Linked DNA regions of Homo sapiens: all the other regions are linked to region 2. Evidence: promoter capture Hi-C in 16 types of primary human blood cells and fetal thymus (Javierre and others, 2016). All regions are on one chromosome and are shown on one strand. The core of a region is centred on a gene start or on the middle of the fragment in contact, and the rest is flanking DNA. Distances in the headings are between cores, read along the strand shown. Region 1 holds the start of CALHM4 (calcium homeostasis modulator family member 4). Region 2 holds the start of TSPYL4 (TSPY like 4). Region 3 overlaps RWDD1 (RWD domain containing 1). Region 4 overlaps TRAPPC3L (trafficking protein particle complex subunit 3L).

Region 1 (2,775 bases), core at 24-2,523, 300 kb before region 2:
TTTACTGAGCTCCAGGTTGACCTTCCCCCATGTGTAATACATGTGCTTGGTTATGGGGAACTCAGATGTGAATAATTAAAGATGCATTCATTTTCTCTATAATTTTTAAGCCTAAAAAAGGAGACAAATGAGCAATCCAAGAAATATGGTACAATGGGATAGTTTTTGATATGAGTAATCAGAGCACCCGAGGAAGCACAATGGAATGAACTCACTTAAGGGAAAGGATTATCAGGGAATACTTCCCAGAGGAGATAATGCAAAAGCCTAAATTATTAAAAAGAAGTTCATCAAATGCAAGAAGGTAAAGAGAGTTCTAAGAAGGTAAAGGAAAATAGCATGAATAGTTGGCAGAACCTCAACACATTTGGACTCACATGCTCATAGGAGTCATGTAAAAGTGGTCAAGGGCCAGATGTTGAAGCCTTGCATGTTATGCCAAGAAAGTGGGTTTGTTCTTAGGCTAGTAGAAAATCACTGAAGGGCTTTATATGCAGTAGGGAAGGGATCTCATCATTCAATTTGCACTTAGAAAGATATTTTTGGCATATATCTAGAAGGCAGATTGACATGGAGTGAAGTTAATGTGAGGAAGATATTTTAGAATAGGGCATGGGCAAAGAAAAGATTTGAATTCAAGGTGATTTTGTGGTCAATTCACAAAAATCTAACTGAAAAATAATGTATATTCTTGAAATGTGACTGAGACAGTCACAGAAGATGGCCTAGTGAAATGGAAATAGCATGATCTTGGGATATCTTGATCCAGTTTATTAGCCCTGAATTATACAAGTTACATAAACTTTTTGAGCTTTGATTTACTTATCTGTAAAATGGGGTAGTAATATCAGTCTCTCAATATTATCAGGACTAAATTAAGATATGAAATATTTATACAGTATGTGATAAGTACATCAATAAATGTAAGCTTTGTTGTCACAAAACCAAACAATCTACTGGCAATGGTACTCAGAACTGTAAAACTGTCTTTTCACAGAAATCTGTGTATGCGTTTAATAACACATTTTGTTTTGACTTTAAGAAAATCTTACCAATGTGTGTTACATTTTAGCTTTTCTTAAGCAAGAAAATTATTTTAAGTTATAATTTTTCTATTGATTTTTTGAATTTTCACATATTTTTACATAGCTCCTCTGAGCATTAGGGCTAGTATTAAAAAAGTTAAGACAGAGCATATCTAATGGTATTTCTAACTTTTTAAAAACTGGGCCATATTGCAATAACTTGATATTCTGTGTCTTGATAGTAGCTTTTCCCAACGAAATAACTTTAGCATTTCTGAAATGTAATAACTCTAAGGTTACCAGTCAAAAAATATGCACGCCTTTGCAATAAGTAGTTTTAAAAAGCCATGTTTTTACTATATGATGATGATTTCAAAATGTGTTTTTTCCTCAGATCCCTTGGAGAAATTGATGACAGCAGTGTCACTCTTTCTACTGACAAAATGCACAATAGCACTTTTAAAATTCAACCTATAAATGTAGTAGGGTTCAGGCTTTCTTCCCACCCCACCTCACTTTCTGACATAAACCTATCCATAGACACCAAATTTAGAATCATAACTGGAGTTATTTTTCATCATAATTAAGCTTCTTATAATTTTAGATGAGATAGTAATATATAAGAATGCATATTTAAGAATATATATATACAGAAAATGGGATTTACTAATATAGCAATAATAATATTCATAACATCTAAAATCTATTGTTCTTAATATAGATTCTAGAAATCATATTAAACACTCCAGATATATTGGTAATGTATTCCCCACAGCAGCCCCATGTGGTAGGTGCCATGAATATCCCCATTTTACTCAAGGTTTTGCAGGTTAATAAGTGGCAAAGCAAGACTAAAACTCAGTTCTGCTGACTCCAAAGCCCAACATCCTAACTATATATATTTGCTCAGTAGAACTCACTTTGATGAACAGCATCTAGTATTGTGTTCTATAATCAGAGAATATAAGAAGCAGTAGGAATCTGAAATGTTTCCATTGACTGTAGTTCTATAGGATAACATAGCAGAGGGAAAAAAATTCTAAAAACTTACCTGTGACTGGTATCTGTGCAGAAGAGCTATTTCATCTCTTACTAGGATCACGTCAGAAGGAGCTGATCTGCAACATGGAAACCCAGCCAGGATCTCTTCTCGTTTGCTGGCACTGACATTATCAAACATTGGGTAATGGTCCACAGATGCAAATTCACTTGCTGCACATTCATAATACGTGCCTGTCAGCAGGGTCACCGCCAGCCAAGTTAAAGGAGCAATAACTGCCCTCCCAGTGATGCTGAAGAACCTAAGGCAAGCCAGCTTGCACTCTAGGGGGCTGATTCTCCTGTATGGAGGGGCACAGCTGCAGCAGTATTCACCGGTAATTGTCCACATTTGGCTTCTCAGAGCAAAGCCAGCAACGAGAAGGATCAAGGCAGGAATGACAAGAAAAGCAGAACCATAATAGAAATTTTTTCCAACCTGACAAGGACAGCTGAATGTAGAAGAGGAGAAGAGTTGTTGCCCACCAATAGTCAAGGCTGCAATTAAAGAATTGATAAATATTCCATTTCTCTGCAGAGAAGACACAATATTGTTGAGAGTTGGGCACATCTTGGGAAGCTGTTACACAAATCAGCTTGTGGCCCTTTCTGATCATTAGACTCCACCAGCTATAACCATTTTATGGGATCTTACTGGTTTAACTGGTTGTGTCAAGTGATCCAACATCCTTACATGTTTAAAGGATTCTAG
Region 2 (2,800 bases), core at 61-2,560:
TTTCATCAGTACTTTATCTTAGTTGAACCAGAACTACACTCCTTCCCTCGCTAGAAGTCTCAGTATATATGATGTATTCCTCTAAGAGGAATCCTTTTTCTCTAAATCTGTACTTCTGAGCCTGTATTTGAAAGTGATCATAATCTGGGGGGCTTAAAATGGAGTTTCTTTTACAAAGAGTTATAATCATAACCGTTTATTTGAATATAAATTTGACATTAAACATAAATATGCAAAATTTAAATTTCCCTTTGGTCTTGCATTTTTCTAAGGATTAACACCATTATTCTCACACTCCAACAAACTAATATATTGTACTGATAATCACTATCAAATGAATTGTAAGAGCTAACTGACTCGAATAGACAATAACTAACCTTACTTTTAAAGTATTTTAAGAGACAGTAGCATAGATGCCTGCACATAGCTGATTATTGCTCCTGTGCTGCAGTGAATTACCACATGAACACATTTTGAAAAGATTTGTTAGCTTCATGTCCACAGGCATTATGAAGCAGGAACCACTTTTAGATTAAGATTGTAACCTGAGGAAAAGAACATATGCATCAGTTTAGAAATTAAAATCCCCTGAGATATTTCTTTCAGTAATGCTTAAAAGCCTAAATTTGTGCTCGTGTGCCAGTCACCTCTACGTAAGGAAAAACATTTTGCTACTCTTTGTTAAAAGTGAAGAGGAAATATTGTCCACTTGTTTTGTAGATGTTGGCCAAATTATATAAACTTTAAAATCTGTAAGACAAATTGAAATATTCCTTTATTATGTCTTGTTAGGATGAGAGAAGTTTGCCTTTCAGCTGCTCCTTAATTTTAAAAATAACAACACAGCAACACTTCTCTTTAAAATCAAACTCTGCTCATTTAAATTCTTTGGTAATAGCCATGAATCCACACCTTAAAAGAAGGAAGGCCTGTGAGTTCGTGAATCCACTTTCCTACTCAGGAGAAGCCCTATGAACTGACTTGAATAGACAGTAACTCACCTTAAAGTAAATATTTTCAGAAACAATAGGTTAGGTGCCTTAGAAATTCATTCAGAGGCTTAGAAATCCACATTAACACAGTTCTTACATGCTTGAGTCTGGTCTACATCCATTTACGTAAGTAAAACTCCCCTTCCAGACTGACGAAATTCTTTTTGTGACAAGAAGACAAAGGAATACGATGGATTGATAAGCGTAGTCAACCGCGCAGAGAGTTCTCGCGCGATGTTACGACGCTACCGCCCTGACATCACCAGTTGCCATGGTAGCACCGCCGAGAGTAAAGGAGGGGTGGTGCTAGACGTTTCGGGCAGAGCTCGGCCGCTGCGGAGGACAAGGAACTCTCCCTCTCCCACTAGTCTGACTTCTTCCAAAATGAGCGGCCTGGATGGGGGCAACAAGCTCCCTCTCGCCCAAACCGGCGGCCTGGCTGCTCCCGACCATGCCTCAGGAGATCCGGACCGAGACCAGTGCCAAGGGCTCCGTGAAGAAACCGAGGCGACACAGGTGATGGCGAACACAGGTGGGGGCAGCCTGGAGACCGTTGCGGAGGGGGGTGCATCCCAGGATCCTGTCGACTGTGGCCCCGCGCTCCGCGTCCCAGTTGCCGGGAGTCGCGGCGGTGCAGCGACCAAAGCCGGGCAGGAGGATGCTCCACCTTCTACGAAAGGTCTGGAAGCAGCCTCTGCCGCCGAGGCTGCTGACAGCAGCCAGAAAAATGGCTGTCAGCTTGGAGAGCCCCGTGGCCCTGCTGGGCAGAAGGCTCTAGAAGCCTGTGGCGCAGGGGGCTTGGGGTCTCAGATGATACCGGGGAAGAAGGCCAAGGAAGTGACGACTAAAAAACGCGCCATCTCGGCAGCAGTGGAAAAGGAGGGAGAAGCAGGGGCGGCGATGGAGGAAAAGAAGGTAGTGCAGAAGGAAAAAAAGGTGGCAGGAGGGGTGAAAGAGGAGACACGGCCCAGGGCCCCGAAGATCAATAACTGCATGGACTCACTGGAGGCCATCGATCAAGAGTTGTCAAACGTAAATGCCCAGGCTGACAGGGCCTTCCTTCAGCTTGAGCGCAAGTTTGGCCGCATGCGAAGGCTCCACATGCAGCGCAGAAGTTTCATTATCCAGAATATCCCAGGTTTCTGGGTTACTGCCTTTCGAAACCACCCCCAGCTGTCACCTATGATCAGTGGCCAAGATGAAGACATGCTGAGGTACATGATCAATTTGGAGGTGGAGGAGCTTAAACACCCCAGAGCAGGCTGCAAATTCAAGTTCATCTTTCAGGGCAACCCCTACTTCCGAAATGAGGGGCTTGTCAAGGAATATGAACGCAGATCCTCTGGCCGGGTGGTGTCTCTTTCCACTCCAATCCGCTGGCACCGAGGCCAAGACCCCCAGGCTCATATCCACAGAAACCGGGAAGGGAACACTATCCCTAGTTTCTTCAACTGGTTTTCAGACCACAGCCTTCTAGAATTCGACAGAATTGCAGAGATTATCAAAGGAGAACTGTGGCCCAATCCCCTACAATACTACCTGATGGGTGAAGGGCCCCGTAGAGGAATTCGAGGCCCACCAAGGCAGCCAGTGGAGAGCGCCAGATCCTTCAGGTTCCAGTCTGGCTAATCTCTGTCCTGTGAGAAGCTTCTGCACAAGTTTCCTTACCACCTCCTCTTGGACCTATGCTTGGCCAACAGCATGCAGTCTTCCATCTGCTTTCTCTTCATACTGTGGATTATCTTTTCCTTTGGTTCTAAATCTTCAGTAATCGGTTGCAAGATTGTTGGCTTACCTGCCTGTGCCAT
Region 3 (3,146 bases), core at 298-2,797, 340 kb before region 2:
TTTCTGAGTCTTTGAGCTCAGTATTCTATATTTTAAATCTGGTGCAAATTACAGGAATATAAGATTATGACTGTCTTTTTACCTTTTGAGTTAAGACCAACTAACATATCTGAGTTACCATATCTTTGGCAGTTTCAATGTCCTCTATATAACCTGTCCTCAACATTCTAACCTCATAACTTATTAATATCATTAAATAACTATTATTTTTGCCCCACTTCAGCCATCTCCTACCTCAAAGAACCACTCTTGAATTGTCATTATCTGAAAGAACTTCTCAGAAACCTAAGTCTCCCAGAATTCAAATTTTCTCTTTTCCTTATTTTCCATTAGGAATAATCTTTGATTTTAAAGAGATATGTAGCTTCCATTTCTCCCCACATAAATGCTTCCTTTGACTTATTTTTTCATCCAGCTTAAATCCCAAGATACAACAGTTTAAATATGTTCCCATGCATCTTCAACTTGATTTCATTTATTCATCCAATAAATTACTACATGAATAATTATTTCAGATTTCAATGATTATTTCATCCAATAATTATTTAGTATAGATTATCTACAAAGCAGTAAATATAAAGTCAAATAAAACACAGCTCCTGCCCTCCAACTGGTCATTTCAAGCACTTCTTTTGAGAAGACTCATTGGGCCATCCCAATCCCAGGTTAACTTAGATGTCCCTCCTTTGTGACCCTGGAGCATCCTGTAAGTTTTCATTCAATACTGTATTTATGTGCCCGGAAATATGAGAATACCTCAAGAAGACAGACTACATCTCTTGTCTCTTATCATCCCACTGGCTAGCATGTGCGCATAAGGTTTGGCTGAAAACAATTTGACTAAATGCAATTTGACCAAATGCATAAAGCAATCTGGCTAATAGGTAAATTTTAGGCAGAATGGTATTGTAAATAAATATTTGTTACTGGTTTTAAAATCTGTAAAATACTGGTATACTGGGGATAGAGTGTGTGTATGGCAATTTCCCAAAGCTTCGTGTATCTTTAAGTATTTTTATGCATATTTATATTTCTAAATTGGCAGAGGGACGCTCCTTTTGTCACATTTTCGTTTATCCCAACCTATATATCTGACAAATTGTCTATTTTAAAAATTACAGCGGCCAGGTGTGGTGGCTTATGCCTGTAATCCCTAGCACTTTGGGAGGCTGAGGCATGTGGATTGCTTGAGCTCAGGAGTTCAAGACCACCCTGAGCAATATGGCGAAACCTCACCTCTACAAAAAATACAAACAAGAATAATAATAATAATAATTAGCCAGGTGTGGTGGCGCATGCCTGTAGTCCCAGCTAATTTGGGGGCTAAGGTGGGAGGATGGCTTGAGCACAGGAGGTCAAGGCTGCAGTGAGCTGAGATCACGCTACTGCATTCCAGCCTGGGTGACAAAATGAGACCCTATCTCAAAAAAATAAAATAAAAGTTACAGTACGTTACAAAACAGTAGTACAAAAGGACTTATTCATGTATACACTCAACAAGTATTTACAGACTGCCTGCTCTCTGCTAGGCATTATTCTCATAGTAACAATAAACTGGGGAACAGACAGACAAGGTCCATCATCACGTGTACATTCTGGTGGATCCCACTTTTGAACAGAAATGACTAGAAAAGCCTCTGACTAGAAACTTATGCAACCAGATACCAATATCATACATCTTTAAGTTGAAGGATTTATACGTTTTCTAATGTACTTTTCCATTTTGATTTTCCTACATAAATGGGCACTGTCAAACAATAAGAAATAGGAAATAAATAGGAAACTGGCCATACTCAAACAACAAAAATGCTATTAAAAATCTGAGATTTAGGATTGTTGAAAGGTTTCTCTTTTAAATAAACCCAAATCAATTTTCAGTTCCATCCTTCTACTCAAAGGTGTATTTGAAGAACTGATATATTATCTTATAATAATAAAAGCAGGAATATCAGTGATCTGGCAATTTTATTGGTGTTTTTAAGGTATAGTTATAATAAGAAAAATTTTAATTTATAAATGACATTGATAAAATAGCAGGTGAATAATTTTTCAATAATATATGTGCTAGGAAGGGGTTAGTTTCCATAGAATATAAGCTTGATATATAATTGAAATGACCTTTGCTCCCATCCGACTTCCTTGGACTTCCACAATATGGCTCCAACATGACTTTCTAGTCCTATTTTCTGGTAGGCACCTAACAACTATTGTTCTCCAGGAAATCTGACTGAAAGAATTATAAATATAATTTAAATATATGTATATTATATATATATAATATAATATAAACAAATAAAACTAATTTGTCGAAAGCAATTTGGAAATTGGCCTAAAGCTACTGAGAGAACGGTGGCAAATATGACTTTGATTGAAATGCCAAGTTCATCAAAACTGTAATTTCCCAATCACTAATTTTGTTGTTGTGAAGTTTATTTTAGTATTGGTATAAGAGTGTATCATGAGGTAGCTTTGCAACCCTTAGTCTTTGGCAAATATTTTATTTTTACCTGTTTTTTTAAAAAAATTTAAACTTAAAACACCTTTTATGTTTCCAATTTATTTGCAGCCAATAATCCCATGATGCATTGTTCATTATGTAAAAATTGAAAACAATCTAAATATTCAACAGTAAAGGATTTTCAGAGCTAAATACCCTTCATCTTTATGCAGGGAGATGAAGAAGTCAAGAAAACTAATGGAGACTACTCTTTAAAGGAGAACAGCTGCAAAGGCAGAGATAGGCAATAGCTATAAGAGGAAGGTCTAGGAAGTATTTTTTATGATAAGTAAATATGTAGTAGAAATAGCCAAAAGGTGGAAGAACAAAACTAAATATAACAATTATTTAAAAATTCATCATGTTAATTATGTAAGGAAATTAAAAAGCTTTGGTGGACTGAGTAGAACCTCTTCTCTCTCTCTTTCTCTCTCTTTTTTACTTCAATTACTTAAAAACATCACCACTAGTCTCTCTTTTTCTCACTTGCTATCTCTCCCCTCCCCTCACCTCCTTTGCAGCAACCCACTGCTATCTTTCTCCTCACTTGGTTCAGTATTCCTGGAATATTTAGCTGCATGACAGGATGAAGATCCACAACTAAATACCATTTAGCATTGATGGTTCAGTACCGTGGACAGCAGCACTC
Region 4 (3,140 bases), core at 567-3,066, 260 kb before region 2:
CCTTTGTCACCCCTCAGCATCAATTTGAGCACATCCTGATGTTCCACTTGAGAGCTTCAAAGCAGTTTCCTTTGTGTTATTGTCTTGTAAACATACTCCAAATGTAAGAAAATACAGAGACACACAGGTTGCTGGTGATACGTTAGGAGGATCACAGAATGAGCATGCCACTCAACACCATGAGTCATTGATGGTGGATGAGCTACATATTGTGGGCAGTACCCACAAGGACCATTGTCGTCTCATCATCCTCAGGGCTAAGTTGCAGACCATTGTCCACCACTCTGTGGAGGGTGCTATAGTGTTGCTGGCTTTGGTGGAAAGAATGCAGCTCTGAAGCAGCCTCCCAGGCAGCAAACGTAGGCATGGGAAAAGGATCTGGCCTCTTGTTTTCAAAAAAACATTTCAGGTTCCTCTCGCTCAGCTTGTTGGCATAGTCCAGAAATGTATTTTCCAACTGCTCCTTCTCCTTTTGTGCATATGTCTTCCAAAAACTCAGCTGAAGGTAGCTAACTTTAGATCGGCAGCGAGCATAACATGTGGTGAGCAGAGAGAAGAAAGACGCTGAACAAATCAGGCACCATCCTAGAATCTTAAGAAGAAAGAAATATTGAGTACACACGTGAAAGCAAAGCCATTTAGGGAGCTGGGGTATTATTGAGAAGTGTATAGCTAAATTATTACCACAGTCTTTGACATACCTCATTTGAAATCATTCATCTTAATTTTTAAACACTTTAAACTCACTTTTTGAATTTATTAGGTAAACTCAAAATAAAGTTAGGGTTTACCTAATCTCTATTCTCCTCCCCAACATTGCTGGTGCAAAGAAATAACCAGAAGGCAGGCAGATAGAAAAGAGTACAAAGTATAGATTACATAAGACTTACAGAAATCAAGCTCAAATAGTATTAGCTCTGATAGGAAAATATTCTGTGCATAAGTAAATGTGGTCATTTGAGTAAATGACCAGCTCTTCAGCCAGGCATTTTTAGGCATTGATAAATGTATATACATGGCTAGAGACTAATTTTTTTCTGTCATTACTTACTGTCCATGGAAAAGGGAGACAGACGATACAATCAGGAAGCTGAAGCTATAAGAATTTAAAGGCTGAGAAAAAATTAGGATCATTAAAACCTTGAAAATGATTTGTCTTGATTTTTGGTAATTAGAAAAAACAAACTCTTTCCTGAATATGAAATGGTTCAGCTTTTCTCCCCTGGATCTTAAAAGCAGAAGTTTAAATAGCTTAAATTATCTTCTAACTTTTTTGGCTCTAACTCTGTTTTCACAATTGAAATTAATTTTATGTTTGGAAAACTAACATCTTTTTCAAAGTGTCTCTTGACATTTAGTTTAAATGATCCTTAATATTCTTTAGCAGATGAGCCTATTTGAAAATAGAAATAATAATCTACAAATGAACCCATTCAGACCATAACAAAACCACAAATAAGCTTTAAATCAGTGGTTCCCAACCTTTGACTCAGATATAGAGTGTTTGTGAAGGGTCTCAACCTCTGCACCAATGCCAACTCTGGACTGGCACTACTCAGGTTTAAATCTAAACTTTCCCCTTACTATGCGTATTCTTTTTATCTCAGTTTCTTCACTTGTGAAACGAGGGTTACTCACCTTGAAGGGTAATTTGATGGACCTAATGAAATGATACTGGACACATGTATTCATTAAGTTTTAGCTAATATTATATGCTGCTATTCTTCAAATATATATACACTTATGTAAATGTGTTACTGAACTCATAATATCTTTCTGTACTTATAATTAATGAGTGAGGCACAACTACCATCAAGTGAAAGTCCCTGAATGGATTGTGGTTGGCTACCTTATATGTTCCTCCTTCCTTCATCGTCTGTCTTCCTCTTTTTCCACAGCTGAGGCTTCTGTACGCCATCTCATCTCAGTACCTGAGCCAGTTCCAGCTGAATTATAAACTATTCCATCAGCTTCAGGTCCCCTTCCCCCTTTCACATGACGTTTGCATTGACCGATGCTTTCCCTCAATTCACAGTACCCAGAGTCAAACTAGAGCTTGGTGGATGCTTCCATACCAGCCCTCAAAAGTGTCTTATTTTGCATATGTCCTCCCCCAAACCATGGCAGTTTTCCTCATTGACTTGGAACAAATACTGTGTACCAGAAGCTTTATGCCCATTTGTATCTATCATCTCTAAATCTTCCGACAACTCTCCAAAGTAAGTGATATTACCACTAACTATGAGAAAACTGGGACTCAAAGAGGTCGAACCACTAGTTCTAGGTCACATAGCTGGTGATTGGTAGCATCAGCATACAAACCCAACGCCAGACAATTCCAAGACTGAGCTCTTTCCACTACTCCATTCTATCTTCCTTAAGAATAGAGAGTCATCCAGCTAGATTTTTTATCTGCCCCACCCATGGATGAATGTTCTTTTCCGCCTCCAGGCACATGTACACCTATTGTTGGTCTGGACTATATGCTGCCTCCTGCCTATCTGAACCTCTGTAGTCAGCACCTGCTATTGATACAAGTTCTCTTGCCCACATTCCTTATGCATCTTCCCACAGGAATCAGCCCCAGGTCCTTCTCATTCTGATGAAGAATCAGCAGGTCAGTGTGCTCAGCCTAAGCTATGACATGATGTGCAAGATTTCCTTGTACCTGTGTTTAGAGAGGAGAAGCTCACACAATGATAAGTGTTTGGGCCTGCCACTGACTGAATGGAGCCTGGTGACTGAGGACATACACCATAAATCAATCATTCTGTCATAAGAGTTGTAAGTTATACCCTTCTTCAATAAAAGACACAAGACATTTGGGAGCCTGATATGTTTTATCTAAGATGTGCTTTATGCATTAAAGAAAAGATTTTGTTTTGGAGTATTTTTTGACTTATCAATTTATGAAGAGTATGACTTTACTGCCAACCAGCTTTGGAGTGTATGATTTTAAAAACAGATTTTGCCTTGATTTGTTGTTACCAAGGCAAATCCTTGTCGAAAAAGTAAAATAATGCTATTTCTGTGCCTTTATTCTGAAACAGATAGCATTCCTGACAATTTGTGGATCTGCTTATCAACTCTTACCACTTGTTTTGCTTTTGGGAATGCAATTCTTACTACCTATAAATGGG

Evidence for each region. Contacts are between HindIII fragments. The CHiCAGO score rates a contact against its expected background, and 5 or more counts as called.
Region 1: a fragment that was not itself captured here is called in contact with the fragment with the promoter of TSPYL4 in region 2 in 15 of 17 cell types (naive B cells, total B cells, monocytes and 12 more); the score reaches 16.9 in naive B cells.
Region 3: a fragment that was not itself captured here is called in contact with the fragment with the promoter of TSPYL4 in region 2 in 8 of 17 cell types (fetal thymus, total B cells, naive B cells and 5 more); the score reaches 10.3 in fetal thymus.
Region 4: a fragment that was not itself captured here is called in contact with the fragment with the promoter of TSPYL4 in region 2 in 1 of 17 cell types (monocytes); the score reaches 5.3 in monocytes.

The regions. Positions count from the first base shown.
Region 1 is chr6:116,553,653-116,556,427 of GRCh38, reverse strand. CALHM4 (calcium homeostasis modulator family member 4) reads right to left here and starts at 2,677. Exons shown (of 2, transcript NM_001366078.2): 1 at 2,077-2,677. The coding sequence starts at 2,634. The HindIII fragment of the contact is 685 bases long and covers 931-1,615 here.
Region 2 is chr6:116,252,585-116,255,384 of GRCh38, reverse strand. It overlaps TSPYL4 (TSPY like 4), which reads left to right and starts at 1,310. Exons shown (of 1, transcript NM_021648.5): 1 at 1,310-2,800. The coding sequence starts at 1,377. The coding sequence ends at 2,621. It also overlaps a transcript of DSE not described here. RefSeq lists enhancers at 939-1,168, 1,579-1,738. The HindIII fragment of the contact is 9,221 bases long and covers 1-2,641 here.
Region 3 is chr6:116,597,008-116,600,153 of GRCh38, reverse strand. It overlaps RWDD1 (RWD domain containing 1), which reads right to left. Exons shown (of 7, transcript NM_015952.4): 7 at 2,479-3,146. Among named protein-coding and RNA genes, the nearest start is that of RSPH4A, 18 kb to the left of the region's middle. RefSeq lists silencers at 3,031-3,146, 2,981-3,146. The HindIII fragment of the contact is 1,103 bases long and covers 996-2,098 here.
Region 4 is chr6:116,513,052-116,516,191 of GRCh38, reverse strand. All of the region lies in intron 3 of TRAPPC3L (trafficking protein particle complex subunit 3L), which reads left to right. CALHM5 (calcium homeostasis modulator family member 5) reads right to left here. Exons shown (of 2, transcript NM_153711.5): 2 at 1-592. The coding sequence ends at 203. Among named protein-coding and RNA genes, the nearest start is that of CALHM5, 3.0 kb to the right of the region's middle. The HindIII fragment of the contact is 707 bases long and covers 1,463-2,169 here.